Regions from separate parts of the Homo sapiens genome. Here region 1 is linked to region 2. The links are contacts of gene promoters, found by promoter capture Hi-C in blood cells and fetal thymus (Javierre and others, 2016). All regions are on one chromosome and are shown on one strand. The core of a region is centred on a gene start or on the middle of the fragment in contact, and the rest is flanking DNA. Distances in the headings are between cores, read along the strand shown. Region 1 has its middle 16 kb from the start of ARID1A. Region 2 holds the start of PIGV (phosphatidylinositol glycan anchor biosynthesis class V).

Evidence for each region. Contacts are between HindIII fragments. The CHiCAGO score rates a contact against its expected background, and 5 or more counts as called.
Region 1: a contact is called between a fragment that was not itself captured here and the fragment with the promoter of PIGV in region 2, in 14 of 17 cell types (endothelial precursors, naive CD4 T cells, total CD8 T cells and 11 more). The highest score is 22.1, in endothelial precursors.

What each region holds. Positions count from the first base shown.
Region 1 is chr1:26,677,852-26,681,989 of GRCh38, forward strand. No RefSeq gene overlaps it. Among named protein-coding and RNA genes, the nearest start is that of ARID1A, 16 kb to the right of the region's middle. RefSeq lists an enhancer at 90-139. The HindIII fragment of the contact is 3,669 bases long and covers 1-3,581 here.
Region 2 is chr1:26,786,382-26,790,741 of GRCh38, forward strand. PIGV (phosphatidylinositol glycan anchor biosynthesis class V) reads left to right here and starts at 1,569. Exons shown (of 4, transcript NM_017837.4): 1 at 1,569-1,887. RefSeq lists enhancers at 339-488, 1,009-1,448, 1,495-2,321, 2,009-2,208, 3,016-3,145 and a silencer at 1,499-1,708. The HindIII fragment of the contact is 3,281 bases long and covers 1-2,861 here.

The sequences.
Region 1 (4,138 bases), core at 497-2,996, 110 kb before region 2:
AGTAGTCAGTAACGGGAGGAGAAAGGCTTCTCGTAGGGGAACGACGGTAGTCAGGAACTCCACTGGGAGGAGTGGGTGAGAGGGTCACATTGCTGTCTGGCACCCACACATCTGTTGGAAGAATGCTACCACTTATGAGAAAGGATTGAGACAGGTGAACAACATGGATGAAACTTGAAAACAGTATGCTAAATGAAAGAAACCAGTCACAAAAGACTGCATATTATATGACTCCATTTTTAAAAAATGTCCATGAATACACAAATCTGTAGAAATGGAAAGTAGATATTTTTCTTTCTTTTCTTTTCTTTTTTTTTTTTTTTTTTTTGAGATGGAATCTTACTCTGTTACCCACGCTGGAGTGCAGTCTTGCGATCTCTGCCCATTGCAACCTCTACCTCTTGGGTTCGTGCAATTCTCCTGCCTCAACCTCCCAAGTAATCGAGATTACAGGTGCCTGCCACTAGACCTGGCTAATTTTTGTATTTTCAGTAGAGATGGGGTTTCACCATGTTGGCCGGGCTAGTCTCAAACTTCTGACTTCAGGTGATCTGCCCACCTCGGCCTCCCAAAGTGCTGGGATTACAGGTGTAAGCCATCACCCCTGGCGTACAGAAAGTAGATTAATGGTTGCCTAGGGCTTGAAGCTGGGGAGAATGGGGAGAGGAGGCTAAAGGGTATGGAGTTTCTTTTCAGGATGATGAGATGTTCTAAAATTGATTGTGGTGATGGTTGCATAACTCTGAATATGCTGAAACCATTGAATTGTACAATTTGATGGGTGAATTGTAATTATATTTCAAAGCTGTCATAAAAAATGACTGATGAACATTTATTTAAAAATCAGACAGTAAAGGTTATAATGTGAGTGCATTCTTACCATCTTTCCCCTCCCTGGTCCTATGAATGTGGATGGCCACAATGGGAGTAAGAGGCATCCCTCTTCGTGGAACCACCCATCTTTTTTTTTTTTTTTGAGACAGGGTCTCGCTTTTTTATTCTAGGCTTACTATAGCTTTTACCTCCTGGAATCAAGGGATCTCCCACCTTAGCCTCCTTAGTAACTGGAAGGGAACCACCCATCCTTGAGACAGTGCCTCTCAGCCGGGCGCCATGGCCCACGCCTGTAATCCCAGCCCTTTGGGAGGCCGAGGTGGGCAGATCACGAGGTCAGGAGATTGAGACCATCCTGGCTAATACGGTGAAACCCCGTCTCTACTAAAAATACAAAAAATTAGTTGGGCGTGGTGGCGGGCACCTGTGATCCCAGCTACTTGGAAGGCTGAGGCAGGAGAATGGCGTGAACCCGGGAGGCAGAGGTTGCAGCGAACAGAGATCACACAATTGCACTCCAGCCTGGTGACAGAGTGAGACTCTGTCTCAAAAAAAAAAAAAAAAAAGACCGTGCCTCTCAAACTATTTTATTTTAGAGACCAGGTCTCTATATAACTGTTGGCCAGAGTAGTCTTAAACTCCTGGCCTCAAGCAATCCTTCTGCCTTGACCTCCAAAAGCACTGGAATTACAAGCATGAGCCATCACACCTGGCCAGGCTTCAAACTTTAATTTGCAGAAAAATAACCTGGAATATTGTCAAAATGCAGATTCTGTTTCAGAAGGTCTGAAGTGGGGCCTGAGATTGTGCATTTCTAAGATGCTCCAAGGTGAGGTTTAAACTGCTAATCCTAGGATCACACTCAGAAATGAGAAGCTCTAAGAGACCCAAAGAAATTATATTCTTTGATTGGGATCAGTACACACACACACACACACACACACACACACACACACACACACACAGATGCTTCTACTAACAGTTAATATTAGTACCTTGAAAAAGTACATTTCTAACATTATTGGATTTATTGCACATTTTTATTGAAAACCTCAGAATTCAGAATTTATAAGAGAGCTGAGTTTGAATCCTGACTCCATCATTTACCAGTATTGTAACCTTAAATTACATAATCTATATGAGCCTCAGTTTCTTTGCTTATATAGGACATAATAATGCCTCTTATTGGATTTTTGTGAGTATTAGAGACTATATAGCACACACATAATAGTCACTTGTGAGATAGCTTCTATTATTATTATTATTATTATTATTTGAGACAGGGTCTTGCTCTGTCACTCAGGCTGGAGTGCAATGGTGCAATCATAGCTCACTGTAACCTCGAACTCCTGGGCTCAAGCAGTTCTGCCTCAGTCTCCCCAGTAGCTGGTTCTGCAGGCATGAACCACCATGCTGGGCAAATTTTTTTACTGTGGAGATTAAGTCTGGCTATGTTGCCCAGGCTGGTCTCAAACTCTTGGCCTCAAGCAATCCCCCTGCCTTGGCCTCCCAAATTGCTGGGATTATAGGCACGAGCCACCATGCCTGGCCCAAGATAGCATCTATCAATGTGGCAAAATTTGTGTGAGATGAAGGATCTACCACACTTTCGTTTTCATGTTTATATTACTCCATATTTTCTTTTAAATCTTCTAAATCTCCCAAATCTTCAAATTTTGGTTCTGTAAGAGATGCTTCCCTAAGATATTTTTTCTTCTTTCATTTGAAGACATCACTGTCGTTTAGACCTCTAGTAATATCTATATGGAATATAATTTTTTTCTTTTGTTGAGATGGCATCTTGCTCTGTTACCCAGGCTGGAGTGCAGTGGCAGGATCTGGGCTCACTGCAACCTCTGCCTTCCAGGTTCAAATGATTCTCCTGCCTGAGCCTCCCAAGTAGGTGGGATTACAGGGGCCCATGACCACGCCCGGCTAATTTTTGTATTTTTAGTAGAGATAGGGTTTCTTCATGTTAGCCAGGCTGGTCTTGAACTCCTGATCTAAGGTGATCTGCCCACCTCGGCCTCCCAAAGTGCTGGGATTGCAGGCATGAGCCATCACATCCAGCCTGTATCATTTGGAAGCGATGTATTATTTGGAACCAATCCAAATAAAAGACAACACACACCTATGTGTGGGTGCAGTGGCTCATGCCTGTAATCCCAACACATTGAGAGGGTGAGGCAAGCAGATCACTTGAGGTCAGGAGTTCAAGACCAGCTTGGGCAACATGGCAAAACCCTGTCTCTACAAAACATACAAAAATTAGTCAGGCATGGTGATGTGTGCCTGTAGTTCCAGCTGCTCCAGAGGCTGGGGTGGTAGGAGCACTTGAACCCAGGATGTTGAGGCTACAGTGAGCCAATATCATGTCACTGCACTCCAGCTCGGGCAACAGAGTGAGACCCTGTCTCAAAAAAAAAATAAAAATAAAAATAAAAAAAAGGGCCCAGCTGTAATCCCAGCACTTTGGGAGGCTAAGGCAGGTGGATCACCTGAGGTCAAGACGAGCCTGGCCAACATGGGGAAACCCCATCTCGACTCAAAATGCAAAATTTAGCCAGGCGTGGTGGTGTGCGTCTATAATCCCAGCTCCTCAGGAGGCGGTGGCAAGAGAATCACTTGAACCTGGGAGGTAGAGGTTGCAGTGAGCTGAGATCATGGCACTGCACTCCAGCCTGGGCAACAGAGCAAGAGTCTGTCTCTAAATAAATAAATAAATAAATAAAGTGATTCAAAGTAAAAGCTTAGGCTGTGTGCAGTGGCTCATGCCTGTAACCCCAGCACTTTGGGAGGCCGAGGCAGGTGGATCACTTGAGATCAGGAGCTTGAGACCAGCCTGGCCAACATGGTGAAACCCCGTCTCTACTAAAAATACAAAAAAATTAGTTGGGCGCGGTGGCACCTGCCTGTAGTCCCAGCTACTCAGGAGGCTGAGGCAGGAGAATCACTTGAACTCGGGAGGCAGAGGTTGCAGTGAGCCAAGATTGTGCCATTGCACTCCAGCCTAGGCAACAGAGTGAAACCCTGTCTCAAAAAAAAAAAAAAAAAAAAAACAAAGTAAAAGTTTAGAATATTCAGTAAGGATCCAGTTGCAGTGGCTCACACCTCTAAGCAGGAGGATTGCTTGAGCTCAAGAGTTTGAGACCATCCTGGGTAACATAGTGAGACCCCATCTCTACAAAAAAACAAACAGAAAAATTAGCCCAGTGTGGTGGTGTGCTCCTGTAGTCACAGCTACTTGGGAGGCTGAGGTGGGAGGATCACTTGAACCCAGGAGGTCGAAGCTGCAGTGAGCCAT
Region 2 (4,360 bases), core at 319-2,818:
TTGGGTAGCAGAGAAGGAAAAGAGAAATTGCAGGAAAGTACAGCTGAAAATCTGGATAAAGTTCTACCTCTACAGGGTGACAGCTGAGCTTTTAAAAAACATTCTGACTTGTCTTGAGAGACCCCTGGCCTTTTTACAAATAGATTTTTGAGAGAATTTGATGTGGACAGAGGGAACCCTGAGAATGCATGTCTTTTTTCCCCTTGTGAATTTACAGAGCAAGGACAGTTCATTTCTCAGTTTTGTCTTTGCAGAGAGAGTGCTGCTTGGAGCCTCATGGTGGACTTCTAGAGATTCAAGTCACAGCCTTAGGCCCCAGTCACAAGTGTGTCCCCAGGCTTTGCCACGTTACTCACAGGCCTCTGGAGCTGAGAACAAGTGCGTGGCACTGAAAAACCTGGGGGAAGGGCCATGAAACTCCATTTTTTCCCCCTTCTCCAACACACAACGACTAAATATGATTTGCCTTTTCTCCACCTTGCACACAACAGATATCTGAAGGCAATTTAGGTCTCAGGGCCTGAAATGAGTTACAGAGTCAAGAGATACAGTCCCAGGCCCCCACAGACTGATGTGGGCTGGTCTTCGCCTGGAGAGGTAGCAACCATCTCTTTGTTCCCACCCACATGAGTAGCCGTTGCAGAAGATAAACCCCTCCCTGAGCCAGGCTGTGGCCAGAGGCTAACCCGGCCCCTGGCTTCGTTTGGAGGGCAGATAACTGAAACCACATAAGGCTTTGGAATCCTGAGAAACAAGAAATCCACCAACGGAGAAGGATTTATCATCTGTTTCCTTTAAGGAGGGTGCAAAGTTGTTCTAACAGTTTCCGTTACAAGGGTACAAACTGGCCGCTCCCCCCAATAGACGGTTTTGTTGAGTTCGCCTCTTTTTTTTTCTTCTTTTTTTGGCCCCACTTCCTATGAGAGAAACTGCTTGGGTGAGGGAGGTGAAAGGAGCCCTGGAGGGTGTTCTCTGAGGTTTTCTTCACCATCCTCATTAGCCACCTGAGGTGGGGCTGAGGACTAAAGTAGGACAGAAGGTCTCTGGTAGATAGAGGAGGGGAAAATCAGGGGGATCCCCCACTTTCTTCACACCCAGGACGCAGGGTGCCGCTGCCGGCCACAGAAACCCCAAGAATGTTTTTCTTTGGCTATTCAGAGGACATCTATTGTGTGTCAGGCCCTGTGCTGAGCTGTTGTTGCCTGACAGCAGGAAGAGCGCGGCTCTGGTTTCTGTGAAGAGGCTGCGGGTCAGCCTCCGACTACAAGAGCCTCGGCCCACACCGGGAACTCAGTGAACGTCAGCGGGAGCTGGGGCAAGAGCACTGACTCTGAGACAGCAGCCTCCGCTCACTATTTGAAGGCGGGGTGGCGGGGGGCCTTGAAGGAGAGCGAAGTGCGAGAGAACTCTTCAGGTGTCACCAAGGTGGGAAGGTGCTACGAGGCGAGGCGCCGAGCGGCGACCCCCATCCCGCTCGCCCGGAGTCAACATGGCCGCCGCGCAGGGAGGCGGGGCTGCTCCAAGTCCGGGCAGGAGCGGGGCGGGGACGCCGTCGGCGGAGCCAGCGCGCAGGCGCGGGCCGCGTGGGCCCCGGATGGAGGAGCTGAGGTTCGGTCCCCGCCGGGGAGGTCGGGACGGGCAGGGGCTGAGGACCCCGCGCCAGCTTGGGAGCCCTGGAGTTCTGGCGGGAGGGAAGCTGTCAAATGGAAGCCGGTAGAAATGAGACAGACGCCCGGAGAAGCGGGGAGCCCCGCCCCTCCGCCATAGCAGCCTCGGGCGCCGCCTCTTCCTTTCCAGCCTCCCGCCCTCGTCTGCTTCCGGCCCTGTGGCCTGGTGGGGCTCTGCAGGCTCCCTCGGGAGTGGTCCTTGGGCCGTGGCCCCTCTGGGGTGAGCGTGGATGATTAGTACCCAGAAGGGACTGTGTCCAAAAGGAGCCGGCCAGAAACGGGTTGCGGACACGGCTGGGCTGACAGAAGGCAGCCCCCACGAGGCCTTTGGCTCTGAGGACCCTGGGTCAGAGCGACTTCTCCAGCCTGCGCAGGGGGTGTTAGTCTTACCCAGAGGGTCCAGAGCTGCCGTTCAACAGGATGTCCCAGATTCTCAGATAGGGCCCAACTACCCTAAGCATACCTAGCAAGGGCAGGCTGCGGCATGGAAGTACTGGGCTAGGCGTTTGGGTGACCTGGGTCATAATCCTGGCTCGGAAAGGGCGCGTACCCTTTGGCGAGGGATGCGGGCTGGTACCGTGAGGTTTAAGAAGCAGAAAACATGACAGCCTCTTTAAGTAGCCCTGGGTACGTCACTTGACCCCAGTGAGCCTCAGTTTCCATATCCATAAAATGGCGATGGTAATTATACTAGCCTCACAGTGTCTGATGAGATCTCTGGAGCCTATTTATCTCACGGGAAAATTTTTGAAGAGTGAAACTAGTTGATCTGTAAGTGTCCTGCCAGTTAAGAGTCTGTGATTTGGCAAAGGGGTTGTTGGGAAGTGAGGTGGGCAATTAGCTGAGAGGGAGAATTGACTAGCTTTGTTTTTACTTGGTTTACCTGTAAGCAAAGTGTGGGCTACACACATCTGTAGTCGCTGAGGCTAGAGCTTGACTCGAGAGAGGAAAGGAAGAATGCAAGCATGGTCAAGTGGCAGAGGTGGGTTAGGTGCTTTTCTGATCCCAGCTTCTCTTCTGCATGCGCGTGGGAAGCCAAGGAAGAGGAAAAAAGAGTGAATTCGCCCTAGGATAGGGAAGGAGTAGCCGCGTGAGGTTGAGTATGCCCATTTCCGTGATTTCTCTCGATTCAGCGAGTCATACGTTGGAAACGTTTAGATTCACAAACTATCGTTACTGTCTGGGGCTTTCAGAAGCTTGCCTTTGAACCGAATTTTCGTGAGCCAACCGGTGTGGAATTGGGGGCCCCTCCCTTCCTCCAGGCCTCCTGGCGATGGAGTAAGCAGCAGGCGCCCCCTTGTGCCAAGGAAAGAGTACTGTTGCCATTGGCCAACTTGGCTCCCTTTCTGGGGAAATTTTATTTTCCTGTGGCTTCTGTGACTTTGTCGTCTTGCTCTTGACATGAGATATGATGGGAAGAATACTTGGGGCACTGATTTCATATCTAGAGTCAGTGAACTGCTGATGCTGTATCCTGTCCCTACCACTTCCATTCATTCAGAACACAGGTTTAAGATGCCTATTTGTGTTCTAGGCCCTGGGATATAGTTGTGATGTAAAGCCCCTGCCCTTAGCAACTTAAATAAGCAATAGCAATAACGGCAATAGGGCAGAATGTAATGAGGGCATAGCACACTGTCTAGTGAGGATCAGAGAATTCCAGAAACAAGTGATACAGGTTTTTTAGGTATTCGCCAGATAAGAGAAGAAAAAGAGTCTTCCAGCCGTCCTCCTTAAATTTCTCAGTTCAAATTTTTTTTTTCCTTTTAGGCATAGTTCTTCATCCCAAATTGATGAGCTGCCTCTGATGCTTTTGCTTTCCTTTCAAATTTCCCAGGCTGGTGTTTGAAAGTTCTTGAGGAGCCTTTATGACTCCTTTTAGCTCAAGGAATTATAAAAGATGCCTTAAGGTGCATTCCCTGCCTCGGAGTGGCTTTGCGATTGTTTATACGTTGCTACCATCCCAACAAAGAGATGGCAAATAACAGTTTTCTCCATCCCTGGTAGTCTACTCTGTCTTCACCCTCAGTTTGTTTCAGCAGTGTGAGCTGGCTGAGGTCCTGCTGAGTGGTGGTTTTCTTTTCCTTCCCCACTTAATTTAACAGACCAGCTGAACACACATCAGAGAGCTAAGCTAGAGTGTGGAGTCATTATGGTCTTCTAGTATGGTTTTATGCCCCACTTTGGGGACTCTGGTTTGGGACCTAGTTTATTATTCTGGGCAAGAGGAAAAGGGCACACGCCAAATAATAGCAACCACAACACAGATTTGAGTAGAACTTCACACTTTGGTCTGTTTCACCATCATGACAATTTTGTGAGATAGGAAAAAAAAAAAGTCTGCTCCCATTTTTTATATAAAGAACTGAGGCTCAGAGGGACTAATGAGAACTTGTAAGTGACAGAGTCAGGAGTTGAACCCAGATCTTTAGTTCCTGCAGAAGTGCATCCAATAGGCTTTAAAAGATTTCTGTGACCTTAGCTTTCCAGCTACTTGCTTAGCTGTATGGAACTTTACCAACGACAGTTCAGGGCTTCACAGTGACACCTACTGAACCCATTTGCTGTCAAGATGCTTTCCCCTCATCTGGGAAGTTAGGTGGTTGGTTAAGTTTGTCATAGTAATTCTGAGAGGGGAGGTTCCAGTGACGAATGCTTTCAAGAATTTGCTTTCACTCGATGTGTGACATTTT